Linked DNA regions of Homo sapiens: region 2 is linked to region 1. Evidence: promoter capture Hi-C in human tissues and cell types (Jung and others, 2019). All regions are on one chromosome and are shown on one strand. Each heading gives the region's core, a stretch centred on a gene start or on the middle of the fragment in contact. The rest is flanking DNA. Distances are from core to core; before and after follow the strand shown.

Evidence for each region. Contacts are between HindIII fragments. The study calls those that stand out against the background at their distance.
Region 2: a contact is called between a fragment that was not itself captured here and the fragment with the promoter of ISX in region 1, in 1 of the 25 tissues and cell types used here (H1 embryonic stem cells).

The regions. Positions count from the first base shown.
Region 1 is chr22:35,064,464-35,068,585 of GRCh38, forward strand. ISX (intestine specific homeobox) reads left to right here and starts at 1,695. Exons shown (of 5, transcript NM_001303508.2): 1 at 1,695-1,999; 2 at 2,289-2,853. The coding sequence starts at 2,625. The HindIII fragment of the contact is 5,369 bases long and covers 1-3,151 here.
Region 2 is chr22:35,113,186-35,117,307 of GRCh38, forward strand. No RefSeq gene overlaps it. Among named protein-coding and RNA genes, the nearest start is that of ISX, 49 kb to the left of the region's middle. The HindIII fragment of the contact is 3,876 bases long and covers 412-4,122 here.

The DNA of each region.
Region 1 (4,122 bases), core at 445-2,944:
ACCTAATTGATCAGGCTGTTGAATGGATTAAGTGAAACGGTGAGCACACAGCTGCAGGCACGAGGTCCAGCAGAGAGAAAGGGCTCCATCGCCTCTCTCTTTTTGCCTCTGCCACTTCCACCCCCAAAGATCCTGTCCTTGCTCTTGACCAAGCATCTCAAGTACCCATCAGAGCTTCCTCTGCCCTGAGTGTAAGGAACCTTGTCCTCTCATCCAACAACCCCTTCCATGGACCAATGGTGGGCCTGACTTCTAGGGGACTCTGGCCTCTTCACTGCAAAAGTCAACAAACTGGTTCATTTGTCTCCTGGCAGGAAAACTCCCCTGTCCAGCCCTAGGAAAGGGATAGGTCTAAGCAGGGTCATGTGACTCCCTCTGGCCACAGAATGTGAGCAGAAGGTCTATCAACCACTTCCACTTCTGACTCATCAAAATTTCTCCTTTCAACAGAAAACCAAATACTGAATGTTCTCACTCATAGGTGGGAGTTGAACAATGAGAACACATGGACACAGGGAGGGGGAAAATACACACTGGGGCCAGTCAAGGGGTTGGGGGCAAGGGGAGGGAGAGCATTAGGACAAATACCTAATGCACGCAGGACTTAAACCTAGATGATGGGGTGATAGGTACAGCAAAGCACCAAGGCACATGTATACCTATGTAACAAACCTGCACATTCTGCACATGTATCCCAGAACTTAAAATTAAAAAAAAAAAATTCTCCTTTGCTGTCTCCCTTTCCCCAGAAAACTTGGAGCCTATGATTGGAGAATGGTGGCATCACTGTTTGAAAGGAATCTGGGTCCCTAAATGACTACATTAGAATGTGATGTGGGTGAGCTATTATGCTCCCAAGACTATAGGGTTTACTTGCTACTACAGCAGAGCCTATTCCCCCCCTAACTAAATCAGACAGCCTGACACTTCCAAGGGGCACAGCTCCTAAAATGGGGCATCTTTACCTGTTCCCTCTCTCAGGGTGAGTCCCTCTCTCTCCTGACTCACTCTTCTCAGGGAGTGGAGACCAACGTTCCCTATCCTTCACCTCCCACCCCTGCCCTCTATGAGAAGATCTAGATTCTAACATCCAAATTTACATTCACAGTCTCTGCCAGGGTATCCATCCCTCCTGTGCAAATTGGCTCCTTGTGGCCAGCATGGCATCATGGACATCCCCAGGGGAGTACTGTGATCAGGCCCTGCCATCACATTTTCTGTACCTCCTTGGTCTGGACCTCAGTTTCCCCATATCAGAAAGCCCTGGAATGCTTTTCCTGATCTGATATTTGCAAGCCATGGAAAGCACATCTGAGAGCAAATGAATGCCTAAGGCTGACAGCCAGCAGACTGCACCTCAGCCCAGCCTCCCCCACACATGACCACAGGCTCTCCTGGCTGAGTAAACATGTTTTATTGGGCCTGGGTACACTTCCTGGCCATTCTGCTCCCACCTTCCCTTCCCCTGCTCTGGCCAGTTCCCCAGCACAGCCCCTCCCTGGGGCCTCCAATACCTGTCCTTCAGATCCCCACTGCCTCCTGCCACTTTTCTACCCTGACACCTGCATCCCCAGCCTTAAGGGGCGTGGAGAGTTTTTCTCTTATCAGCCTGTTTTACTGCCCCCTCCTCCTTGGTTACACAGTAATTTGGAGCAAAATTCCAGGCAAGGACAGATCAACAACTGTCAGCTCCCAGTCAGAGAGAAAGGGCCTCTTCAGTCTGTCTCAGGAGACTGGGAGAAACAGCATAAAGGACCCCACAAGGAAGGGAGAGGTACCCTGGGTCAGGCGCTTGTGGAGAGAGGGCTTCGCATGTAAAGTGACGTCAGGGAAAATAGAACAGAAAAAAAGCCAGGGCCAGCCCAGAGGCACCTGAGAAGAATCAGACCCACAGCTCAGCCCAGCCCTGGCACAGAGAAGAGACAGGCCTGGCAGCACCCAGGGACCCCCTTTCCTCAGCCTCCACCTGCAGGACAGCAGGAGCACTGATGCGCTGAAGGTACGTTCTGGAGTCTGGAAGCAGCAGAACTGAAGGAAGTAAACACGGGTGTCTGGGAAGACCCCTCAAGCTGCAGTAAAGCCCAGGACTGAATTGGCCACCTGAGGCCAAGGGTGGCACTCCAACCTCCTCCTAAAGGCTGGCTAGAGCCACAGGAAAGGGCCAGAAGCCAGAGAAAGGGCAAAGGTGGACCCCTGCCTCCAAACCTCCTCTGGAGACTGACCTCCTCTTTCCTGTGCCTTATTGTTTCTCCCTCTTCTCTTTGTTCGCCACTGGGCGGTGACCTCAGGGATCCTGGCCTAACCTGGTGATTGTGCAGGCAACTGTGTCCGAGAAGACCCTTCTCTGGAAGATTGAACCCCAATTCAGCCATGGTGACTCCTTTGATGTCAAACTGGTAAGGGCTGAGCCGTGGGCACAGGATACCACTCCTTCCAGCTCTTCTGCTGTGACCTGCCCATGGAAGTCCCTGTGGACACGAAATCCTGTTTGGATCATCTAACTGGAGGCTCTCTGTTCTTCACCTCCACGCGCCCTCTTGACCCCAGGAGGTTCAGGGGAGGAAGTACGCCACTCTCCACTGGCACCCTCCTTGGCCTACACAGAGTCACCCCTGAGCCCCTCAATGTGTGCTGAGGTGGGCCCTGCTCTCTGCAGGGGTATGGAGAGAAATAGCTTGGGGTGCTGTGAGGCCCCGAAGAAGCTGAGCCTGTCCTTCTCCATTGAGGCGATCCTAAAGAGGCCTGCCAGGAGGAGTGATATGGACAGACCAGAAGGGCCAGGTGAAGAGGGCCCCGGAGAAGCTGCGGCCTCAGGCTCTGGGCTAGAAAAGCCTCCAAAGGACCAGCCCCAGGGTAAGTGTCTTCTGATCATTTCTTTCTGTTTCCTGGTCTCCAAGACCCAGCTGGGCTCAGGCAGAGAAAAAGCTTCTCCGTCCATATTAACTGGATAGAGGACTCTAAAATTCAGAGCAAGACCTGGCTCTGGGCTGGTTTCCTGATATACCTTTCAATCTAACCCAAAACTGTGCTTTTCAGCTTCAGACACCAAGGCTCAGTTAGTTGCAGAATGCAGGGACCTGGGGCTTGTTATTGTAACCAGGCCCCGGCTAAGAATGCTAGTTACCATTTATTCAGCATTGACAATGTCATAGGCATTCTCTTTTAATTTCAGTAGAAAAGCATGATTATCATAACTGGACAGATAAGAAAACTCATCTGTGAAAGAGAAGAGGAGGATAATGTCCCCAAGTTACACAGCTGGTAAACAGAAGCCCCGCTATCAGGACCTGGCTCTGACTCCCCCAAATCCCTGCTGGGCCCAGCACAGTCTCCTCCTCATAAGCCAAGTTCAGTCTGCACAACTTCCAGGGGCTGAAGCTTTGCCCAGGGGCCGAAGCTTTGGCTTGGGAAAAGTCTGTCCACCCTGATCACCTTCCCCAAGCCAGTGGCCACCCCAAGGCATGTCCCCAGATAACAGTGACCAGGTAGATCGAGAGCTGGCTTGAGGAAGGGAGGAAAGCCGCACTGGGGCATTGGTGTGGACGCACACACCTGCTAACAGTCAGGAACCCAGGATGTGAGTCTTAGCTCTACCTTGGCCTGCTATGTGACCTCAGAAAAGTCCCTGTCCACTGCAGCCTCAGGTTTATTCTCAGCAAAACACCTGGGTGAAGGAATAAGAAATGGTGAAGCTGGCGATGTCTCAAGGGCCTTGTCAGTCTGACTGTCACTGAGCCTGGAATATCTCACATGAGGTTCTCAGTTCTCTCCCCTTTTCACCCCTTTTAATCCCAGAAAATGCTGGAAAGGAAGCTCAGGGAGCCCTTAATGTCATTACCTGCCATAAATAGAGCTCCACATCCCCACCAACGAGGCAAGTCTCCCATGGAGGGAGCTGATGAGGGGTCGCACTCAGCTGCAGGCATGAGGAAGACCAGGAGGGCTGTGTGTCTGCAGGCAGGAAGGAGCCTGGTGTGTTTCCCTATAGCTGAGTTTTCCAAAGGGAAAGGGTCTCTAGCTTAATTTTTGGAAGTTCATTAATATCTTCCAGTCCATTAAAGATTCATAGGAACATTTCCATTGGGGTCCTGAGTCTCTCCTCCTGCAGTTGTACAAATCTAT
Region 2 (4,122 bases), core at 1,100-3,599, 49 kb after region 1:
CTCCTACAGCTGAGGAACCGAAGGTTTGGAGAAGTTTCATTACTCTCCTAGCTCACCCAGCTAACAAGAAGCAGATAGATGACTCAAGTCTGACCCAAAGGCCAAGAACTTGGATGTACCTAACCACTCCACTCTCCTGCCCTTCCTCACAAAGCTCCTCCCTCTTGAGCCCTCTAGAATGAAAACACCCACATCTGTGGCCCGCCTCACACGCCAGGCTTCATTCTCATGGACTAACATATCTGAGTCTTACAGCAGTCTGTGAGGTGGGGTCGGTGATTATTCCCAGTCTGCAGGGGAGACATTGACCAATGACCTGCCCCGAATCGCACAGATCCCAGGTGGCAGATCCTTGGTGCCCAAGCCATCTGGCTCCGGAGCCCACCGTTTAGCCACTGTTATGAATGCATAATGCAGGAGGGAATCCCAGTTGTGTATTTTAGAGGAATTATTGAAAGTCCCATTGCTTCTCCATCAGGGTCGGAGCCTTCCCCCTGGTGCCACTGAGCACCAGCCATCCCTATGGTGCCGCTGAGCACACCTTGGGTGGAGACGTGCCCCCTCACTGTGTCTACAGCCTTGTCCATGTGCCCACCCATGTTCTGGCTGAAGGGACTGTGTCCCCTGTGAGCCTCATCTTTCCCAGCTCCATGGCCCCTGGTCCTTCTGTGCTTCCTCCCAAGCCAGGGTCTCTAGGCCCTCTCTATCCTTGCCTCTCTCCTGTGGGCCCATCCCAGGATTCTGTGCAAATAGTCAGGCCATTTCTATGGCCCCAGGGAGGAAAAAAGTCAGGAACCCAGGACTGAGGACAAGAACATGGACAGGAATCAAAGACGCTGTCCAGTGAGGACTTGCTAAGCCTGGACTCTTTGGGGGAATTATTTCATTTAACTCATATGGCAGCTGCTGACATCTGGAAGAAGCCCCAGGACATATCCGTTGAATGAATCAGGCAGCCCTCACTTTCCTCATTTTACAGATAGGGAAAGAGATGTCCTGAGGATCTTAGAACAGGCTCAACATCACACAGCTATGACAAATTCAGGATTCAAAGCCAGCTCCTCCTGGCTCCCTCATTTTTGCTCTTTCTTCCACCCCCATATTACAATGCTTGGTCCACATTTGGAGTCCAAAGAAATGGATCCTCACTCCAGCTGTGTCTTGGACTCCTTTGTTGACCTTGAGCCAGGCTCTCTGGAAAAGGCATCCAGAAGCTCTCCAAGGAACCTTTAGGAAGAGGAACTTCCTGGGTTTGGTGACCATGAAAGGAGGAAAGAGAGAATCCACCAGCTGGAGCTCCACGTGCACGCAGCCAGCCCTCGATGTGCAACATCTTTGACAACAGGAAGACACATGCTCTCAAGTGGCTCACTCAAGCGTCTTTAAAGAGTTCCGTAAAACTCTGCATTTCAGTGCACGACCAGTAAGTGTATAAAGCGAATGTGGTGTGCTGGGCATACAGAACAAATGGAAGAATCTCAGGCAGAGAGCCCCACGTGAGGAATCAGAGACAGGCTGGGGTCCAGATCTCTGCCCGCCTCCACCCAAGATGTGCTCAGCGGAACCACAGGGATGGCTGGTGCTCAGTGGCACCACGGGGAAGGCTCTGAGCCTGATGGAGAAGCCATGGGACTTTCAACAATTCCTCTAAAATACACAACTGGGATTCCCTCCTGTGTTATCCATTCAGCACTTACCGACAAGTACATGCCTAGGAGAGTTGCTATGAGAATTGAGGAAACACAAAGGGGATTGGAAGACGCTTCAACGGCAGAGCATTTCATGCATGGGAGGGAGAGCTGTGGGGGCCCGCGGAACATTCCCACCACCATTGCCTCTCCTCTCTGGTGTGACCCTGGGAGAGGACAGTACAAATTAGCCAGGCTGTAACCTGATGCTAGAAGCTATCTAGGTGTTCTGTGGCTTCAGGTCACTGTCTGCCACACAATGAGGCAGTGAGCAGGCAGCTGCCCCTCGGCTTCTAGAAAAGGAAGGTGGTGGCTGGGCGTGGTGGCTCACGCCTGTTAGCCAGCACTTTGGGAGGCCGAGGAGGGCGGATCACGAGGTCAGGAGATCGAGACCATCCTGGCTAACACGGTGATACCCCGTCTCTATTAAACAAAATACAAAAAATTAGCCAGGCGAGGTGGCAGGCGCCTGTAGTCCCAGTTACTTGGGAGGCTGAGGCAGGAGAATGGCATGAACCTGGGAGGCGGAGCTTGCAGTGAGCCCAGATGGCACTGCACTCCAGCCTGGGCGACAGAGCAAGACTCCGTCTCAAAAAAAGAAAAAAGAAAAGGAAGGTGGACAGTGGATTCGAGCATAGATCCCAGCCCCAGATCCCACAGCTGCTAGGGAAGTGCACAAATGTTTTCTATGAAGGGCCAGATAGTAAATACTTTAAGCTTTACGGGTCTTAGGATCCCTGTTGCAATTACTTAACTCTGCAGCTGTAGCTCAAAAGTAGCCAGAGACAACACATCAGAGAATGGCCATGGCTGTGTTCTAATAAAACTTTATTCACAAAATCAGTCAGTGGGTTGGATTTGTCCCGCAGGCCATCATTGGCCCTCAATAATCCCAAAATATTGCTGGCCTCCGATGGTGTTAAAGAGGATTTGAATACAAAGTTGCTGTGACTGGCCATTTTTCTCACCACCCCACAAAATCTGCCTTGCCATTGACACTCAATTCTATCCTTGAAAGCCTGAGAAATCCCAGTTAGAAGATGCAACAGCCCCTTCCTTCTTCAGACCAAGCTCCCAGCTGGGTGACGTTGGGAAAGTCCTCCCACCTCTCTAGGCCTCATTCTCCCCTCAGTAAATGCACTTATTGAAGGCCTCCCCTAGGACCAGGCGCAGTGACCAGGTACAGCAGGGTGTCCAGGGAACAGCCCCAGAACATTGGCAACAAAATCTGCCTTCCATGGAGGTAGAAATTGGGACTCAGAGAGGTTAAGCAACTTGCCTGAGATCACAGAGCTAAGAAGTGTTCATACAGGAACTAGAACCTAATGCTTTGGGCTCCAGAGGCCAGAGCTCCCACCTCTGCCCCTCTCAGGCTAGGATGACTCCGAAGCCCCATCGGGTCCATGTCTCTGAGTGCTGGGAAGGTGCAAAGTCCAGCAGGAGAGAGCATGAGGATGACAGAGGAAGACCAGGGAGCCGCCTCTGTTATCCACCAACTGTGTGCCAGGATATAAGCTCAGTTATGGGAGGTGTTATCCTCCCCCAGGAACAGGTGTGGAAACAGGCTCAGAGAGGTAGAGGGCCTTGCCCAAGGCCACAGAGCCAGTGGTGAGTCAGGACATGAACCCAGGCCGAGGAACCCCACATGGCCAAGCTTAGCTGACTTCCCTGGCCACACTCCGCCCCTCCGTTTATGTTCCCAGAATGAGACAGGAGCCCGGGAAAACCTCCTCCCCAGGTGGCATAGAAGTGAGAGCCCAAAAAGGCGCACCCTACCCCCAGTGCCCTCACTTGGGGACACCACTCAAGCCTACAGGTGTCCATCAGTCCAAGCTGAGAACCATCAACAATGGCCCCCTTCACTCAGACCCTGAGAAGCCCCAGGACTGGGGTGCAGCCGGGTTCAGCACCAGGAGGATTATCAGCCACCCAGGAAATGCCTGGAGGTCTTGAACTTCTGAACTCCTCGCTCACCTCCACCTGAACCCAGCAAAATGGCCTCTTTCCTGTTATTACTTTATAGCCTTGACTGTAAATTCTTCCCTGATCCCACTTTATGGCTGCAGGATAAAAACATGTGCCCCAGGCATAGCTTTCGAGGAGAGCGCCTGGTTTATAAAGTGGTGCTGTCATAGCACAGAGAAGGGGTGCAGCTCAGCCGGCCAAGGGAGTGCAGCCCGGGGCTCACTGCTGGCGCACGGGAAGGGCAGGCTGACCAGACCCTGCCAGGGCACCAAGCCAGGCACACTGCAGGGCCCTGGAAGCCAGGCAGCAGTTCCCACCCTTACCAGGGATGGCAGCGTGACTTTCTTCACTGCATCTTCGGGGTAACCCTGAGAAACAGGCCAGGTTTTATGGCTACCTTCATATTACAAGTGAGGAGGCTGACGCTGGGAGAGGTGGCGTGTACAGGGCCACACAGCCAGGACGAGAA